Regions from separate parts of the Homo sapiens genome. Here regions 1, 3, 4 and 5 are each linked to region 2. The links are contacts of gene promoters, found by promoter capture Hi-C in blood cells and fetal thymus (Javierre and others, 2016). All regions are on one chromosome and are shown on one strand. Each heading gives the region's core, a stretch centred on a gene start or on the middle of the fragment in contact. The rest is flanking DNA. Distances are from core to core; before and after follow the strand shown.

Region 1 (4,102 bases), core at 341-2,840, 430 kb after region 2:
TGATCAAAAGGTGACTTCTGCTGCATAAACAATTCACAAACCTTACATATGGCATCAATCATTGTTTAATGACTCCTGTGGGGGGAGAGCAGGCTCTTCCATAATTACTAAAAGCAGTATAACTCAAAAAGAAACAAAAAGTCACCAATTCATCAGCTTACTTAGCTGATGTCACAGAAGTAGCAGGAGGATTCCTTACCCCCCATGCCACAGACTTAGTTTTTCAAACATCTCCAATTTCTTGCTTTTAGCTCTCAAGGATGCAGTCCCCCAGCTTCCCAGAGGGAAGTCTGCTAGATCGGTAAGCATGAATTCACTACTTCCCTACTGTTTCCTTTGGAAGTGCCTGAAGTGTCTCCTTGTCTCAGTTAAACAGAACATGGTGACCGTGAGGCAGAGTTTCCAGTGCCAGGCAGCTCCAGGCACCCTGTGCCTGTGTTCTGCAGAGGAGTCTTTCCCAATGTCAATCAAAACACAGCTCAAGTTTCATGCCCTGCTTTATTAAATTCTGCATGGTGCCCACTGGGACCACAATGGAATCTTCAGAAACGTAAGGAGAGGTACCTCCCTTTCCTGGCTCTGGGAGGACACTTGGGTAAAGGGAAAGGCTGTGGCCATACCAACAGCACTGCTGCAATCAATGCCACCAATCACTCAGATTTAGGCTATTTTTAAGTAGTTTTGCAAAACAAATGCCAAGTAAGGCTGCACCAGTGTGTTATCACAAGCTGACTTGCATACTAAGCTACTTCAACAAGAGAGAAGGACTTCCAAGAGCAACAGCAAGTCAGCGAAACAGCACTTGAAAGTCAGAAAACAAGGCCTCTTTCACTCACTGATCTGCTCAACAGCAGTGTCTATTCTATTCTGAGAGCTGGGGATCAAGCAGTGAACTTGGCTGACAAGGTACCTGCCCTTGTAGTGGTTATATTCTAATGTGGGGAGGGAGAAAACAACAACAACAACATATGTTAGGCTGGGACAACTATTATAAAGGAAATAAAAGAGGGTGCTGCTCCCTGAAGAGAGGGAGGAAGAGCAGGAAGAGCCACTTTTAAGGAAAGAAAAGCGTTGTAGAGCCCAGAACAGGAAAATACATGACAGATTTTTTTTTAAGCAACAAAGCTCCAAGAAGGCTCATATCTGAAAAAAGAAATAGAGTATAACATGGAGGGACAGAGCATGATGAGAACCTGGCTAACATGTTCACGAAACTATGCCAGGATATAGATACGGTTTACTTTCTCATAAGACACTACTGCTGTTCTTTCTTTAGTCATTTTGCCAACCTTCAAATGACTTTAGAAACAAACCAAGAGTGAAAATGAGACAACTCAGATACTGTCATTAAACATTCAGGAACATGCAGAAATTTTGGCAGTCACAAGTCTGAACAAAAATCTCCAGTTGTAATCTAAAAATTACTTCCTAAGAGTTTCTTTCTGATCATTAGTGAAGATAGGTGTAACTAAAAGCATCTTTAAAAATATTGCTCTAACTAGACATCCTGTTAAACCCAGAGGATGTCACATGTGTTATCCCCACTCTCAAAACCCACTGTTTGGGTTGAAGTATATCCTCCAAAAAAGAAACGCTGAACTCCTAACCTCTGGTAGCTCAGAATGTGACCTTATTTGGAAAGGGGATCTTTACAGAGGTATTCAAGTTAAAACGAGGTCATTAAGGCTGGCCCTAATCCAGTAGGACTGATGTCCTTATAAAAAGAGGAAATCTGGTCCAGGCGCCGTGGCCCACGCCTGTAATCCCAGCACTCTGGGAGGCCAAAGCGGGCGGATCACGAGGTCAGGAGATCGAGACCATTCTGGCTAACATGGTGAAACCCCGTCTCTACTAAAAATACAAAAAAAAAAAAAAATTAGCCGGGCGCGGTTGCAGGCGCCTGTAGTCCCAGCTACTCAGGAGGCTGAGGCAGGAGAATGGCATGGCCCGGGAGGCGGAGCTTGCAGTGAGCCAAGATCACGCCACTGCACTCCAGCCTGGGTGACAGAGAGAAACTCCGTCTCAAAAAGAAAAAAAAAAAAGAGGAAATCTGGACAGAGAGACAGACATGCACACAGAAGAACGCCATGTGAATATAAAGGCAGAGATTGGGGTGATGCATCTGCAAGCCAAGGAACGCCAAAGGCTGCCAGCAACCCACCAGCAGCTAGGAGAGGACGCTAATAAAAATAAACATCCAAGAATGAGAAAGCGCTCTTGGAAATTAACACACAATTGTAAAATTAAGACATTCTATAGAAGGGTTGGAGAATAAATACCAGCCTGGGAAACACAGCAAGACCCTGTCTCTACAAAAATTAAAAAATAGCCAGGCACGGTGGGTCTCACCTGTAATCCCAGCACTTCAGGAGGCTGAGGTGGGAGGATCACTTAAGGCTGGAAGTTCAAGACCAACTTGGGCAACATTAGTGAGACCCTATCTCTGTTTTGTTTTTTTTTTTCTTTTAAAAAGAAGAAGAGGAGGAGGAGGAGGAAGAGGAGAAGGAGGAAGAGGGGAAAGAGGGGAAGGAGGGGAAGAAGGAGGAGGAGGAGGAGGAGGAGAAGGAGAAAATGTAGAAAGCAGATCTCCCAGTAAATCCAACAAGGATAAAGGAATGGGCAAAAGGAGGAAAAAGATGAATATCAGAGCATCAATCCAAAATGGCCCCAATATCTGACTTGTAGACTTTTTAAAGTACAGAAACAGGAGAGGAAAAAAAGGTAGGGAAAGGCAGGAGTTGGATATTATCAAATAAATCATACAAGAAATTTCCTGGCGTCAGAAACATGATTTTCCAAATTGAAAGTTCCCACCAGGTGCCCAGCTCAAAGGATAAAGAAACACCTGCACTGTTGTGGGCTCCACCTATGGCAGTCACGACAGAAACATGCTAATAATAGACAACGTTAAAGGCTACACAAAGGATTCCAAAATCACCATATGGGCACGACTACACAAAGCAGGATACACACCATGCCCTCCATCAGATGTACGGCACGTAGTGCCAGCTACTTCCCCAACATCATGAGTGTACACAGCTACAGATGATTCTACCTGTGGGGAGAGGCCTCACCAGGATTGATAAATACCCACTACAGTCTCTGGGTGTTTTTATGCCCTCTGGCCTGCGGAGACTCTGGTGACATAGGGCCTGCTAGCCAGGTCTAAGTAACGAAACAAGGCCAGGGGTAAGGATTCACTGTGAAGCCAGGTAAGGTGGGTACTTCCCGTGTTCCCTCCTAAGAGACTGTGTCTCGTCCAAAAACTGAGATGGCAAATCCCAAACCAAGGTGCTTCATCAAGAGATGGTAATGAGATACTTTAAAAAGAAACAAAGAAAGGTGCTAAAAAAAATGGGTAGGGGGGAAAGGATAGGAAAATGGGGAAAAAGAGGGGGGAGAGGGAGGGAGAGAGAGAGAAATTAAAAAGACTTGAGACTTCTCAAAAAAAGGTAACTTCTCAAAAGTAACAATTCTAAAGGAAAACTATTTCCATTCTAGCATTCTATAGCTAGCCTATCAGTTGGGTAGGAGGCTCAAATAAAGACATTTTCAGACACGTAAGCTCTCAAAGAATTTCCTCCCTGTAAACCCTTTCTCAAAAAGCTGCTAGAGGATGTGCTCCATCAAAATGAGGAGGCATGCCAAGAGAGAAGACAATGTGTAATCCAGGACTCAGAATCCAACACAGAAAATTACTGGGATTCAGGATGAGTGAGGTGTTGACTGCAGAGTTCTGTAGTCCTATCAGAAACTGGGGGCCTGAATTTGTGACTGGTACTAAGAAATGTAAACCAATAAAATAATTGTTGACTCCAGAGAAAAGAAAAATTTGAACTGGCAAAGAAATAAAAATCACTGCATATGCTCAGCTGTAAGCAATATTTAGCCATGAAAATATAAACAATGAATATTAAGAAAATTAGAAAATGGTATTGAGAGCTTAGTATAAAGAATTGTGCGTGTGAGAGGAGGGTTATATAAGAGATGAACCTTCATCTTGCAGCGTAGGAAATCAATAGAGAAGGTCTAAAATGAAAAAAACAAGCTACAGTAGTGTATGCATACAAGCATGGAATCAAATCCCACAAGCACAGAAAAG
Region 2 (3,817 bases), core at 250-2,749:
CCCCGGCTGTCAGGGTCCTTGGTGGTTAAACCTGGGAAAAGGCCACATGAAGACAACTGTAAGCACACATGATCCCTCTGAATTGTTTTCTTTTCCTGCAATTGTGCTTGCTCTTAAAAATTGAAGTTTTAAACAGGGCTCACATGTGATCATCCTTCCATCTATTGGAGTCTAGCTTGAAATGTGACAACCGGAACCAAAAGAACCTTGAATTTGGTGCCTACTTTGGTTTTGGTGCTGCTGCTTCTCAAGATCCTCAGCAGGGATTAAGAAGTTGGGGTGCACAGCAGGAATATCAGGAAATTGGCAGGCTTGACTTCCTGGCAAATTGCTAGCAGGACCACTAAATGCTGAACTGTACTGTGAATGTATACCGAAATACAAGCAATTATTTCTGTACTAAAGGTGTTTTTAATTTTGTATTTGTGTAAAACCACCTTTGGAAGCAGCAACTATCTAGTCAGAAAAGCAAATGATGTTTCCATTAATCTTTTCTGGGGAAAACATTAGTGCTAAGGATTTAACAATCTGTAGGTAAAGTTTAACCTAACAGTATTCCACAAGGAGACTTTTTATTATCAGACGGTTGCCTAATTTTCATATAATTTTTATATTAATATAATCCTTGGTTCCTCCCCATCCCCTTCATAGGCCACAGCTGAGGTGAAAAGGGTCCTGGAATGGCTAGTGAGAGCTAGAAATTCAGACGGGAAAATTGAAACTCAGAGCAGAAAGGCAAGCTGCCCAAAAATAACAACGCTAGTTAATGGCACAATTGCTACCAGACCCAAGTATCCAGACTTCCTGGAGCTGTGAGATCTTTCATCACCACCACTCTCCAGGTACCGGGCAGTGCCTGTTTCTGGATTCAAACTCACAGCAGCGAGGAAATCCTATTTTAGCAAAGTGATCTACTGTTACTGTTGTTAGTGCACCCCTCTCCTGCGTCTCTGCTTCACATCCACTCCCTCGCCGCCCGCCCCCAAACACTTGGATTCTTCCTAGCCTCTCACAGGTCAGCCACCACCAGAGGACCGTGAGCCTCCGGCAAGTGATCAAATACTGAGCCCGAATTTCGGCAGCCGTACCAACGCAATCCTGGGAGCCCATTCCACCCACTCCGCAGCCCCTCTCCCACCTCACCTCTTCCCTTGTCAGAAAAGCGGACGCCGCCTTCCCAGACTCTCCTCATGAAAACAGCACCCATCTAAATAGTGATCATGAAAAATGCCCCTTCCAGTCCACAGAGAAAAAGCTTTCTCCTTTTCTAAGAGTCCATGGGCGCCGCCATGTTGCTGTACGGAAAAACGTTTCCAGGGCGAGTTGAGCGTTCAGGGCACTCCTCGGCGCTCAAGCTGCCCACAGGTCTTCCGACCTAACTTTAGGGGTCGTGCCAGTCTTCGTAGAGACGGCCACACTGGCCCACAGACCCCAGTTCCTGGGGTGACGCAGCTGGGCGCGACCAGCACGCAGCCTTCCAGCGACGAGGCGGTCGCATGGAAGTTACTGCGCGCGTCGTGCGTAATGACGTCAGCGCCGGCGGAGAATTTCAAATTCGAACGGCTTTGGCGGGCCGAGGAAGGACCTGGTGTTTTGATGACCGCTGTCCTGTCTAGCAGATACTTGCACGGTTTACAGAAATTCGGTCCCTGGGTCGTGTCAGGAAACTGGAAAAAAGGTGACTGAATGACATCGGATTAACTTTGTTTCTGCAGAGCTGTTCTGGAGGAAGAAAGTGATGGCGCCAATGACTTAAATTTAGAGGTCCTGAGGCGATGTTTTGGTGTTTGTTTGCTGTTGGGAGAAGCCTCGAGGCCAAAACTGTGCGAGGCGCTGGTTTCACGGGATCTATTAAATTTCTAGTGGCAACGATTTCCCAAGGAGGAAAGGGGAGGGCCTGGGGGACACTGATGAGGAGTGGAGGCTCGGGAGAGGAAACGGGGAAGAATTGAAGGGGGCGGAAAGAGATGGACAAGAGAGGACTCGTTGGGTGGGTTGCGTCTGAATACTAGTGTAGCTTCTTATGGCCGTGTAGGACTGCGTGTAGAAGTCTTCATCTTAAATCATGAGAGCTACATTCTAAGTGGAGATTAAACGTGGACACACAGGTGTGAGTGGAAAAGTTGAATAGATGAACAAGCGCATATTGAAGAGGAAATAGGCGGCCAAAATCAAGAAGAGTCTAATCAGTGTAAAAGACTAAGGAGTACCCAGAGAAGTAAAAGGATTGTCACCTTCCTGAAAGCCAGGGCAGGACCTGAGAAGGCTGGGTGCAGAGATGAGACAGGATCAAAAGTTTTGTCAATCATGTGTATCCTAGGAGACAAATTTTTTAGCAGATGTGAAGGGAGTGACCTGTTAATGTGGTTTGTAAATGGAGGCAGCCTATAGACCATTTTATGGACCGGATGATTTATCCTTGTTGAAGGGGAGATTGATGCCAAAAGGGCAGTAATTGAGGAAACAATGGGTTAAGGACAGAGCAGGAGAGATTGACATTAGGAAAACAGAATAATTCCATTCTCTGAAACCAAAGAAAAGGAAACATTTTGAGGTGAATAAGAGAATTTGAGGTAATTTTTTTGTCTTCCTATTGAAATAGGCACAGCCAACAGCAGTAATGTGGTCTGGGTAACAGACAGGGCTTTAGCTACCACGGATACCCTTGTGAAGGCAAAAACCGTAACTTACTCGTCTTTGCATCTCCTGCATTGCCTAGCACACTCCCCTATATATATAGTGGGCAGTTAATAAATGTTTATGTTGAATATTTTTAAATGGAATTAAATAGATGTTCCTTGCAAATGAGAACTTCAGTGTACATGAACAAAAAAGAGATACCCCAGGGGAAAGATGATGATCTTGAAGAAACAATGAAACCTGACTGTCTTTCTGTTTAAGGATAAATAGTTGCTTAATGTACCATCTCTGTCTGGAAAGTTTTTTTTAAATACTGAATTCGTGAATGTAGGTCATAAGCATGAAGCGCAGTTCAGTTTCCAGCGGTGGTGCTGGCCGCCTCTCCATGCAGGAGTTAAGATCCCAGGATGTAAATAAACAAGGCCTCTATACCCCTCAAACGTGAGTATTTCCCTTGTGGTTCTAATTTGCATGCTTTATCATCTTAGGCAAAGAAATCATAAGAAATAGTTAATATAAAGATGTAATATGAGTGATGTCTTGGTGAATCTTGTCTGTTCCCAGGGGTACCTAATTTTGGATCAATGAAATCTAAAAGTGGGCATGATACTCTGCTAGGTGTTGTTTGTGTCATTTGTTTCACAAATTTCCAAAGCCAAATGCTTTACCAGGCACCCCCTAAAAGGACTGTTAATTCTTGTTCAGTACTCTCTTATTTTTCTCTTTTATTCTAGAGCTACTTGTTTAAGCAGGCTCTGTGCTGTAACTTAGAGTTCACTGAGATATTTCCAATTAGCAAAGCTTCAATCAAATCAGAGCAAAATTATTTGCTCTCATAAGGTATAATATAGTAGCAGCCTACAAAACACCACTCCTCCGAACTCTTTCCTCAAGATTTGCTGGAAAAATATCTGAAAGAACCTGCTGTCATAAACTATAGTTTTTCATTATGAGTGATTATCTTCCAGATAAGAGAAGGCTATTTGTAAGCCATTGTAGAGCTGTATAATTCTTCTCTAGTACCGAGGTACAAGTTACTTGCTAACTGTTTTTAAATTACTTGGATTTACATAGTATGAGCCTATGTTACTTTTAGAAATTTGAAATATTTATATATTTTTCCTTTTGAATACTGTAAACCAAGAAAATGTTTGTGCTGTTATACATTACTTATACC
Region 3 (3,680 bases), core at 103-2,602, 380 kb after region 2:
AATCTGTGTTCACCAGAAACACACACTTACAGAGAAATTGTAATAAGATATTCTGAATGTCCAAAAGAAACCCAGATGAGAGGTCGTGGTCTCTGACTTTGAGGATTTTTAATTCAATGATCTTTATTTTACTTACTGAAAGCTCTTTTTGTTTCTGGTGGTATTTCTTAGTTCTATTATAGCAATGTTTGTAGGATGAAGATAACCTGAACGCCTACCAGCAAGAAAATGGTTAAACAAACTATGGTATGTCCATACTATGGAATACTGTGCAGCTATTAAAAGCACAGAGTTAGGTTTAGAACTAGACTTGAAAAGAATGTTGATGACATATAATTAAATGAGAAAAATCTGAGAGAAAAAAATCAAATAAATGGCAACAAACTGGGTTTTTGGTCATCTTTATCCTACTCTAAATGACGAACCCCTAGAGGAACAGAGGCATGTTGTATTCATAGCATGTGGCATAGAGTAGTAATTCCAACATTTGTTGGATAAATTAACAATTTTTTATTTTAAGGAGAAGCATACTACACAAGATAAACTCTGGTCAATGTAGTCATATGTGGAATAGGGAGAAAAAGGCTGGAAAGTTGACATTTTCCAAGTTGTCCTTGCTGAGCATAATTTTTAGCGGAACTGTCAGAATAAGCCATGAAAACGAGGTTAACATCAATAACCCAGTCCTCTCGCTTACGGTGCCTGCTGATCTAGAAGTTCAGTGTTATGAATTATAAATAATTTTAAGAAACATACAAAAAGTGGTTTTTTTTTTTGACAGATGTCATTTATTATGTTTCATTCTGCTCTTTGCCTCTGTCTCTGATAAGGAAAAATGTTGCTTAGGCCAAGTAAATGCAAACAAGGTATTACAAAGATAAGTAATGAAGAAACTAGAAAAAGCACCAGTCTGATCAAGCTTCCCCTTCATAAATCATAGTGTTTCAATGCTGCTTTACCTACTGGTACCTAAGTTGTTGGTTTCTCAATCAAAAAATGATAAACAATCTCATTTTGCTATCGTATTTTTTGGTAATAATTTTCTTTGTAAATTTATTGTATCAAACTGTAAGTTCATCTTCAAAGCCAAAAAAGTAGTCCTGTATCCTTAATAACTTGATGCTTATCAGTTTTGCTATTTGAGACTTTATTCTTTATGAAGAATGATGTACTGATGCCTTTGAAAGAATTTTTAAAAAGATGCACATTACGTGATCTGAGTTCTTTAGTGAGAATGTAAAATCTATTATTAATAAATAAATAAATAAAAAGATCCACATTGAATCCATCAAGAATCCGTCGTTAACTAGCGTTCAAATCAGTACATACAGAATGTGTGTGCTGGGGAGGGGGGATTTTAACAAATCATGCTCGTTTGCTAGAAGAAGTCAAACATGTAATCACTTATAAAAGGATATAGGCCAATTAATTTAACTCTCTTGAGATCATAATAAATTAATTCACCTGACTACTCAAGGTGAGGGATGTAATATCCCAACCAAAATGGTAAACATGAGTCCCAGTCCAAAGGGCACATGTGGATAAACACATAGCCAGAAGAGAAATGCCCTACTCAGGCAGAACTGAATGTATTCAAGTCAATATGTGAACCAGAAGCAACACTAAGTAAGAAAGCTCATTAAAGCTAGAAAGTGATGTGCCTTCCCTTAGAAAAAGTGCAAGTATGTGCATTCAGCATGCTCCCTGCACCCTGAAACTTTGTATGGAGAAAAATTCCTCATCCCTTCAGTTCCTTTTTGACAGCTTAGTTCTTCAACATGAAACTAAAGCTTGTCTTGCCAACAACAGTCCTCTGTACAATCAACCATAAAAAACTGCTAAACGGTCCGTCTGGGCCACGTACCAGAGGCCTGAGCACACTGTGTAAGGAGGGTGTAACCCATGCAAACTTACATATTCTTCTTCAGTCTCCTCAACAAAGAAAGCTTCTCCGTTATCACCCAACTTCATGTGAAGATCCACTGCACTGCCGTTGATTTCTATATCAATCTATGGGAGAAACAAAGTATGACTTAATGTTCAAGGAGTCTTTCCTTCAAGTTAAACTAAACCAGAACTCTGAGTTCTCAAGTCAAACTTAGCATAGTTTTGAGGTTCCTAGAACTACAGCCTCTGAGAAACACTGCTACTTGCCCCTACCCAACCCCTAAGAAGCCAAATGGAGCTGGCAGAGGGAGAGATGGACAACCAGGAATTGAAAGAAAGTGTTTCACCATCTATTTTTACAACATATAAAAATTTTAAAATTATTTTTCAAATTTAAAATGGGGGAAATATTATTGTCAAACATTTGCACACTTTCCAAGTTATGGCACAGGCAGGCCTCACCTCACACGGTTCAGATACACACAAGTTTCAGGAACCTCAGTATGTGAGCTGTGAGCAACTGCATCAAGTACAACTTCACCGACAGCTCTTCTGCCCACAGATCACTACGTAAGTAACAGGTGACAATCAGTGCTGTGATTGGTCACTGATGATGGCGGTTCCATTTTCCCAAGAACCAGGTGAAACGATGGGATAAGTAATATCATGTCAAAAAAAAATTCAGGTAGACATATGCGTTGGGCCATTTTTGTGTTTGCTATAAAGAAATACACAAGGCTGGGCAATTTATAAAGAAAAGAGGTTTAACTGGCTCATGGTTCTGCAGGCTGTACAAGCACGGCGTTGGCATCTGCTTGGTTTCTGGGGAGGACTCAGGAAACCTTTACTCACGGTGAAAGGCGAAGTGGGGGCAGACACGTCACATAGTGAGAGCAGGTGCAAGAGACTGGGGGTGCCACACAAAGGTGCCACACACTTTTAAAACAATTGGATCTTGTCAACTCAGCAAAAACTCATTCATCCCCAAGTGGATGGTGCTAAGCCATCCATGAGGGATCTGCCCCCATGATCCAAACACCTCCCACCAGGCTCACCTCTAACACTGGAGTTCACATTTCAACATGAGACTTGGAGGGGACATCCAAACCTTATCAACATATTTTGTCAAAATGCTTGTTATAAAACTCCTATGTATGGGCCGGGTGCAGTGGCTCATGCTTGTAATCCCAGTACTTTGGGAGACCAAGGTGGGCAGGTCACCTGAGGTCAAGAGTTCGAGACCAACCTGACCAACATGGTGAAACCCCGCCTCTACCAAAAATACAAAATCGGCTGGGCATGGTGGCGCCCGCCTGTAATCCCAGCTACTCGGGAGGCTGAGGCAGGAGAATCGCTTGAACCCAGGAGGCGGAGGCTGCAGTGAGCCGAGATCACGCCATTGCACTCCAGCCTGGGCAACAAAAGCGAAACTCTCTCAAAAAGAAAAACAAACAAAACAAAACAAAAACAAACAAAAAAACCTCCTATGTATGAATAACATAACCACACTGAAGTGAGGAAGAATGGAACTAACCTTACCTTGGAAACAGTATTTTGACTTGTATTATAAGTCTAAAGACATATTTGATATGTTACTCCAAACAAACATTGTGCAGTAGTTAATACATTCACAGAGATTTGAGTTAGCAATTCTGAAACTATTTTGTGTTTCCTAGGATTGAGTAACTAAGCAGATATACTGACGATAATCAGAACCATGTTTCCTGTTGAAAGAGAAAAAAATTATAAATAAGGAGGGGGAAAGAAGCCTGCGATGGTGGATGGGAATTGGA
Region 4 (3,586 bases), core at 137-2,636, 360 kb after region 2:
TCAGGCAAGACTTCCCTTCTGACATTTGAAAAACAGGTGAGAACTCCCTGAACCCTCTTTTTCAGAAGGTGTTGGGGAAAAAAAGACTTGCTCTGCTGCTTGTTTAGTATGGTTCTCTGGATGAATTTCTATGGAGACCTGGTGGAACAGATTCTGGTTATTTGCATCTGGAACTATGCAGGCAGACGATAACCTTCTGCTCCTATCTGATAGGTAATACAGTGAAGCAGAAAGAGCACAGGCTCTGGAGTCAGACTCAAGGTCTTGCCCCAGCTCCGTCTCTCACCAGTTATGTGACTTCGTGAAGCACCCAAGTTTCCTTACCTGTGAAATGGCAACTCGAACATCTCTAGTGCTGAGCTACAGTAAAGGACCACTTGGGACAACACCTGCACGTCCTAAGTGCTCAAAAATGGAAACTGCTATATGGTAAAATAGCCCTATACAGTCCAAATTCCTGTGCCTGACAAAAAGGTTTTTTGAATAAATGAAAGATTCATTTCTTTCAGCCCACGGAAACAATGACCTCTAGGTCTGTTACCTGTTTGGTCATGCTTTCTCTCTTTCGCCAAAACCACCAGCGACCAGATTTCTTTGGCATCTTGTCTTTCACCCAGGACTCAACTGTGGCCTGAAAACAACCAACCTGGGTTAGTCTGGGCAATCTACTGGCCACACAGCACCTACCTTCTATGCTAGCCTGAAGGACGGGGCCTTACTATGGAATGTGAGAACGTGACCGATGCTCTCTTCACACCTCCCAGATTCCTCTAGCGTTTTTAACACCTCTGAGAGACAGACCCCGTCCTGCTTTCATGGCAGCACAGCTCTGTGGCATGAGACCAGGCGGTCTGCTATGTAGGACCTTAGGGGCTGACAGGTGGGCAAATCTCATTTATCTATCTTTGGAAAATGTGGTTCTCATGAGTTAAGAGGACCAACTAGGCTGATGATGTCTTCTTGGGGGACAGATTAAAAACCAATTGTGAGTTTGTATATAACAGGTATGTTAGCCACCATCTGCCCTAACCACACTGATGTCAAGCTTCTCTTGGCTACATCACCTTCTTCTTGCTGCTTCTTCCCATATTAATGGGAGAAAAAGTTTTTTTCATTCATTCCATATTTAACTTATGATTAGTAAAATCTCTCAACTTTTACAGACCATCAGAAACTAGTATTTATGTCTAATAAAAATGAAATAAAGAAGTGGCAGCCCTGCTAATTTCCCAGAGTTTGGGCATGAGATATTTTTAGTGGGTACATATGACTTTGATCTTTTATATTAAATATTAAGCTCAAGTAAAACTTTGAATAGTACCCAGTTCAGAAATATGCACATATGGATTTGTGTAAGTACTAGACACTGCGGATGCTTTCGGAAAGGCAGCAGATGGTGGATCGCCTCACCTTAGGCAAGCTCTTCTGGAATACTTGCAAGCTAAGGATCATGGGAGCTGCCAAAGCCCAGTTATAGTAACTGTGAGAAACAAAAATTGTGCAAAACCATTACACAGTGAAAGTGAGCAAGAGAGAGGGGAGGGAATCAGGGAGGGAGGGAGGAGGGAAGTGACATATAAAATTGCTTATTCTTTTCAATAAAGATGATCAGCTGAATTTTTTGTCACATGAATAACCTTCGCTTCAAGCACAACTTCTCTGAACAGAGAAGCCGTAAAATCTATCAAACAGAGTAACATTTCAATGCTTCTTTTAAAAATAAAATTGAAGCTTTACTTTCACTTCAAAGTCATTGCCCACTGGCTAATTTATATGAGATGACAAGTTTTATAAGAAGGAACACTTTTATAAGTAACAGTTAAAAATGGCACTTGTAAAAAAACTGCAAGAGTATTTAACAATTATAAAAGCAGGAGTATTTACCGATTATATATCCTTATTACAAGGTTAGGATTGTCTATAAGTCCAGGGTTTTCTGCAAATTCGTGATAAGTAATGATATGCTCCATGAATTTTTCTGCAATGTAAAATAATAATCAATTTGGTTAGAGATTACATAAATCCCTATATGAGATTATAATACTCTCTGCATTGCAGAAATTGAAGGCTAAAATCATCTGTCTAAAAAAACTAATTTTTGAATATTCATCAAAAGCAAAATGTCAGACGCTTTTTTTCCCCAGGACAAGAAAGAACACTTCTTTTCTATTCTCCTTTTCCACTGTCTCCCAGTGAAAACAAACAAACTAGTAAAAAGGGACATGACAGAGACTTTCAAAAAAAATACATACAGATGTGGCTAGAGAGGGACGGAAGACAGACACAGAAAGACAGACAGACACACACACACGAAAACTGTCGAAGTTCTATTCTCAGAGGAAGAAACTTTACTGACAGGCAACGGCATAACTGGGGAATATTCATAGGGGTCTTACAGCTTTAGCAAGCTACATTATATCAAAACATATCTTAAAATTGTTTGGGCCAGGCACAGTGGCTCACACCTATAATTCCAACACTCTGGGAGGCCGATGTGGGCCGATCACTTGAGGTCAGGAGTTAGGGACTAGCCTGGCCAATACGGTGAAAACCCATCTCTACTAAAAATACAAAAATAAGGCGGGTATGGTGGTGCCAACCTGTAATTCCAGCTACTTGGGAGGCTGAGGCAGGCGTGACAATCACTTGAACCCAGGAGATGGAGGTTGCAGTGAGCTGAGATGGTGCCACTGCACTCCAGCCTGGGTGACAGAGCAAGGCTCTGTCTTAAATAATAAAAACAACAACAAAAATTACATGTTACAATTGCTTGGAGAATTAAAAAAACAAAACAAGGCAAAACAAAAAAACCTAGAATTTGGCTCAAGGTCTGTGAAATAAATCCCAAGTTCTTGCAGAGTGAATGAGGGCTTCCCATGAATTTTTGTACCCTGTTCCTAAACCTGTATTCTCCTAGATCTAGGCTAACAGAGAAACTGCTCACTTGGATTGTTTCTCCAGGTAATGTGTGTATTACTTACATTTACTTGTCATTTCTGCCTCTTCCAATAAACTCTACTAGACTAAGTCACCAATATTTAAAACAAAGGTGTAACTTTTATATTTTACCTACATTTTGTATTTCGCATTCCCTCGCATATAATTTTTTAAACTGAACATTTAAGAGGATTACAGAAAGAATGTGACCTATTTAACTTAGTCCCTAGAATGAACCATTGGCCATAACACACTTTAAATTTCTTGCAAAATATAAAGCAAACAAACAATGAAGAGACAGGGAAGAGGCATAATGAGCTTCCTGTGACCCTGGAAAGGAAAGACTTCAGGAACACATGGTCCTGAGCCTCTGGCCATGCAGTCTGCCACATCACACCTTCAGTTCCTCTAAGGGAGAGGGAAGACAAAAGATGACACTAGTCACGGAAAGAAAATTTTCCCTTAGAAGAAAATCATACAGGGGCCACAGGCCAAACTGAGAAATACTAAGAGTTCAGTTTTAAAAGGAAGGTTAAAAAAAAATGCTGATGAATTGAGGACGGATGCACATGGCACTCAGCCCAGCCTATAGGCATCCTGACATGTCTGCTAAACTCCCTCCTGATTCCTGAGCAAGCTTTACTCTCGT
Region 5 (3,874 bases), core at 446-2,945, 410 kb after region 2:
GAGAGGCCGGGCTCGGTGGTTTACACCTGTAATCCCAGCACTTTGGGAGGCCAAGGAAGGTGGATCACCTGAGGTCAAGAGTTCAAGACCAGCCTGATCAACATGATGAAACCATCTCTACTAAAAACACAAAAAGAAGCCGGGAGTGGTGGCACCTGTAGTCCCAGCTACTCAGGAGGCTGAGGCAGGAGAACTGCTTGAAGTCAGGAGGCGGAGGCTGAAGTGAGCCAAGACTGCGCCACTGCACTCCAGCCTGGGCGACAGAGCAAGACTCTGTCTTTTAAAAAATAAAAAATAAAAAAAAAAGTTGAAGGAGAAACAAGATAAACAAGATGTCTGGATATTCTCAAAGTATTTTCCCCAAGATACACATTCATTACAAAAGGAAAAAATTTTAACTCTATAGTAGAGAAACCTGGAAGACACCACCATAATCAAGTGATCGGGAAAACTTAAGACACACTGACCTCAGGGACTCCTGGTATGACTCACTGAAAAGGACTTTTGAGGTATTTTGACCAAAAACACACAACCTCAATCTAATTATGAGACAACATCAGACAAACCGAAGTAGAGACAAATTCAACAAAATATCTGACCAGTGCTCATCAAAACATCAAGGTCATGAGAAGCAAAGACTAAAGAACTGTCACGATTGGAAGAGACTAAGGAGACAGGACAATTCAAGGTAAGGTTGGGCTCTGGAACAGAAAAAGGACATTAGTAAGAAGAATCTGAATAAAGTCTGTAGTTTCATTTTCAAAACAAAACAAAACAGTTATTCTTGGCCTCCACTACTGCCTTCAATTCTGCTTCAGTCTGTCTGGGAAATCTGTATTTTCTTTTGAAAGCTCCACAGGGATTCACTCAGTGATGAGTCAGATGTGGGCATCATCGTCCTTGGGGCTCACTTCTCACCCCCGGTGCACGTTGCAGTCACTGAGGTGCTTGGGGAATCCTCATGATCAGGCCACCCCATCTGCAGATTCTACTGCAAGTACTTTTGAAAGCCTCCAAATGATCCCAGAATGTAGCACATCTCAAGCTGTGCCTCAGGACCACAGGTAGGTGGAATGACTCCCAAACCCTCTTGTTTTCTTGACAGTGAACAGAGCTGAAGAAGGGTGGTGTAGTAGTTCCTGTTCCTTTCCTGCCTCACTTCCTGGCCTCAAGTGATCTACCTGCCTGGGCCTCCCAAAGTGCAGGATTACAGGTGTGAGCCACCATGCCCAACTGAGATTTTTATTTAGATCCTTTCAGAGTTGTGTCCATCTCCTCTAGGCCAGGCCAGCAGCCTCACTTTTTGGGACACCTAAAGGCACAGTGATGTAACTAAGGTGTGTTTTCCCAATGCACGAAGACTACACCTGGATCACATCTACAAAACAGGGCTCACCAGGCACTCTAACGCACTGAGTATGCTGAGTATGTAATCAGGACCAAGTATCCAGGCAAACTCAACATGGTAGCATTCATACAGCCATTTGCTGGATATCTGCCCAGCTGTGTTATTCATAAACCCAGAGCAGCAAAAAATTCCGACATATTAGTGGAGGCAAACAAAAAAAAATTGATTTACATGCATCTACTGGACTCAGTTGTAGTACAATAAATATTTGCTAAATGAAGACAATTTTGTTTCCTCTACATTAATAGGCTTAGCTATGCAATATACAGTGTGTGTGGAGGCAGTCTGTGTGCATGTATGTTTTAATTGTAAACTACTTCTAAATCCTTCCTTACTGAAAACAGATGGGGGCACAAATATAAAAATGAATAATAAATAATTTTCAAATAGCCGAAACATATTCATGTCCACAGTCCCAAAACTACTCCCCCCCAAATTCCTGAGTTCATCTGTGGCGAGCATGCTTTGAAAACAAAGACTTTCAGAGAATTTACTCCCCCAAACTGCCTAACCAGTAATCTTGTATGGTCCCTCAATATATCCTCTTAGCAGGCCTCAGAGTTTTCATTTCAGTGCACACTGTCACTTGGCTAGTGAGCCTACCAAAGCACACCTGTAGGTTTACTAGAATCCTCTTCCTCCAATGCAGCTACTTCTGCTGCGCTTAAGGAACCATCACCCATTCACAGCTCAGTGGCAAGAGCACAAACACTCCTAAAACTTAGGGGAGTTAGGAGGGAGGAAAGGTATCATTTTCAAGCCCAAAGTTACTAGCTATGGAGAGTGGGAGCTAAAACATGGCTTGAAAATGGAACTCAGAAAATGTTTGTCTCAAAAATTTTAGCGAAACTTGGCCCTTATCCAGAAAGAAAGAGGAAATTCTTGCATTAGCCCTTCTTCCCCCTTGTTCTAGGACTCAGAACTCTGGTTGAGTTCTCTGGCTAATTATGAGACAGGCATAGCAACATTATTTCTATGAGGAAATAAAATTCCACTCAATTAAATAATTACTTTTTTGAACACTGGCCATGCTAGACTGGAGGAACACAGTTAGTTTTAGACTTGTTCACCTCCAGTTGTTCTAGGAATCTGGGCAGCAATCAGTAATGACAACGTGTTATGGTTCCCCACCACCAACCTCAGCCCCACCCCAAATCCTGGGTGGACTAAGGTTTCCTAACTTAGCATGATGCACGCTGCCTCGTATCATGTGCCCCACCTACAGGGTGACTTGCCACCTCTGACCACTGTTTGTGTTATTAAATCTGGTTGAGCTTTTTGGCATCAACCAGAGGTGCCCATGTCCTTTGATAAATAGCTCACAGAGATGAGAATTGAGGGACACTGCCCTCAGGGCTTCCTGGAGTCCCCTGAAGCTGGTGAGGATGTGAAGACTCAAGATCAAGTCTCGCTTCCGCTGGAGAAGAGGTCTGGGCTCTGTGCCGGGGGTTCTCTCTAACAAGAATGGTCAGGTGACCTCTAGAGTCCCCCCCCAGCTCTAAACTGCAGAAAAGCTCCAATTCTATAAGCATTTCTGAGGATTACAAGTTTGGCTAAGAACTCCTGTAGTATATTCTGCCCTAAATGGGGTGAAAATATGGCCAGTAGATTATTCTGGGACTTCAGGTTATTTGAATATAAAATAATTTAGCTTTTTCCTTAGCAAATAAAGGTATTGTCTTCACTTGTTTCAAAAAATATGAAAACATGGTCTTTGAAATTTCCCAATTTCTAACAAAGCACAGAAATCTTCTCATGGTTTTCCAAATCATGATATGATACATTTATATTCCCAAATCACAAAACCATGAGGAAAGACTCTTTCAAAACTGAAACTGTCACCTTACAAAAGGGGTGCCCAGAAAGGATGTGATTTGTAAGGAGTGTTCAGGTCACAGAAGGCCTGGACCCTGAAAACCAGGGTTCTCCCTCTAACCACACACACCCAGGTTATAAAGTCAAACTCCTATATAATCATTACAGGCTACTAAGCAGATATCAGATCCTTATCCCAAACGTTAGCATTAAGAAAACTCATGCTTCTCATGGGACAGGGAGGTGACTCATTAGACTTCAATGTTCTAACGGCAACATAAAATGGGACCGTTAATAAAATGCAGCCTAAGCAAACACCTCTTGACCTCTTTCTGGAAAACACCAGCAGACACAAGTCTTAAGAACTTCCTGTGAGGGAGAGTTTATGTGTGTTAGTGCTACTTAATATATGAATGTTTAAAGTATTTCGTAAAAAGTCAGCAAGGTTCTCTATTCTCCCTTCTGACCTTTACAACAAATGTGAGTGAGCCAATATGTGTATACATTCTATAATATTACAATGTTGATTTCAAAAGCAAACTGCCTCCCCCGTGGTAGCACCTGACTCTTCCATTCATATTCAAACCACGTCTTTCCATTAGTTCCTGAGAACTCTGAGTAAGTACACTTTCACTAACAGATCCAAAAGCA

What was found. Contacts are between HindIII fragments. The CHiCAGO score rates a contact against its expected background, and 5 or more counts as called.
Region 1: a contact is called between a fragment that was not itself captured here and the fragment with the promoter of METTL4 in region 2, in 2 of 17 cell types (neutrophils and total CD8 T cells). The highest score is 6.2, in neutrophils.
Region 3: a fragment that was not itself captured here is called in contact with the fragment with the promoter of METTL4 in region 2 in 3 of 17 cell types (total CD8 T cells, activated CD4 T cells and naive CD4 T cells); the score reaches 6.8 in total CD8 T cells.
Region 4: a contact is called between a fragment that was not itself captured here and the fragment with the promoter of METTL4 in region 2, in 1 of 17 cell types (naive CD4 T cells). The highest score is 5.5, in naive CD4 T cells.
Region 5: a contact is called between a fragment that was not itself captured here and the fragment with the promoter of METTL4 in region 2, in 5 of 17 cell types (naive CD8 T cells, naive CD4 T cells, non-activated CD4 T cells and 2 more). The highest score is 6.8, in naive CD8 T cells.

Annotation. Positions count from the first base shown.
Region 1 is chr18:2,997,580-3,001,681 of GRCh38, forward strand. The region is part of intron 1 of LPIN2 (lipin 2); the gene reads right to left. Among named protein-coding and RNA genes, the nearest start is that of LPIN2, 14 kb to the right of the region's middle. RefSeq lists enhancers at 566-665, 736-885, 1,153-1,252, 1,367-2,289. The HindIII fragment of the contact is 6,417 bases long and covers 1-4,102 here.
Region 2 is chr18:2,570,006-2,573,822 of GRCh38, forward strand. It overlaps METTL4 (methyltransferase 4, N6-adenosine), which reads right to left and starts at 1,500. Exons shown (of 9, transcript NM_022840.5): 1 at 1,144-1,500. It overlaps NDC80 (NDC80 kinetochore complex component), which reads left to right and starts at 1,552. Exons shown (of 17, transcript NM_006101.3): 1 at 1,552-1,678; 2 at 2,972-3,081. The coding sequence starts at 2,981. RefSeq lists enhancers at 593-1,515, 1,398-1,557. The HindIII fragment of the contact is 2,186 bases long and covers 1,254-3,439 here.
Region 3 is chr18:2,952,590-2,956,269 of GRCh38, forward strand. It overlaps LPIN2 (lipin 2), which reads right to left. Exons shown (of 20, transcript NM_001375808.2): 3 at 1,915-2,010. Among named protein-coding and RNA genes, the nearest start is that of LPIN2-AS2, 13 kb to the right of the region's middle. The HindIII fragment of the contact is 871 bases long and covers 918-1,788 here.
Region 4 is chr18:2,927,181-2,930,766 of GRCh38, forward strand. It overlaps LPIN2 (lipin 2), which reads right to left. Exons shown (of 20, transcript NM_001375808.2): 10 at 1,885-1,978; 11 at 1,411-1,480; 12 at 542-631. Among named protein-coding and RNA genes, the nearest start is that of LPIN2-AS2, 38 kb to the right of the region's middle. The HindIII fragment of the contact is 686 bases long and covers 1,044-1,729 here.
Region 5 is chr18:2,977,907-2,981,780 of GRCh38, forward strand. All of the region lies in intron 1 of LPIN2 (lipin 2), which reads right to left. It overlaps LOC124904236 (a long non-coding RNA gene), which reads left to right and starts at 449. Exons shown (of 2, transcript XR_007066268.1): 1 at 449-1,064. The HindIII fragment of the contact is 4,754 bases long and covers 1-3,874 here.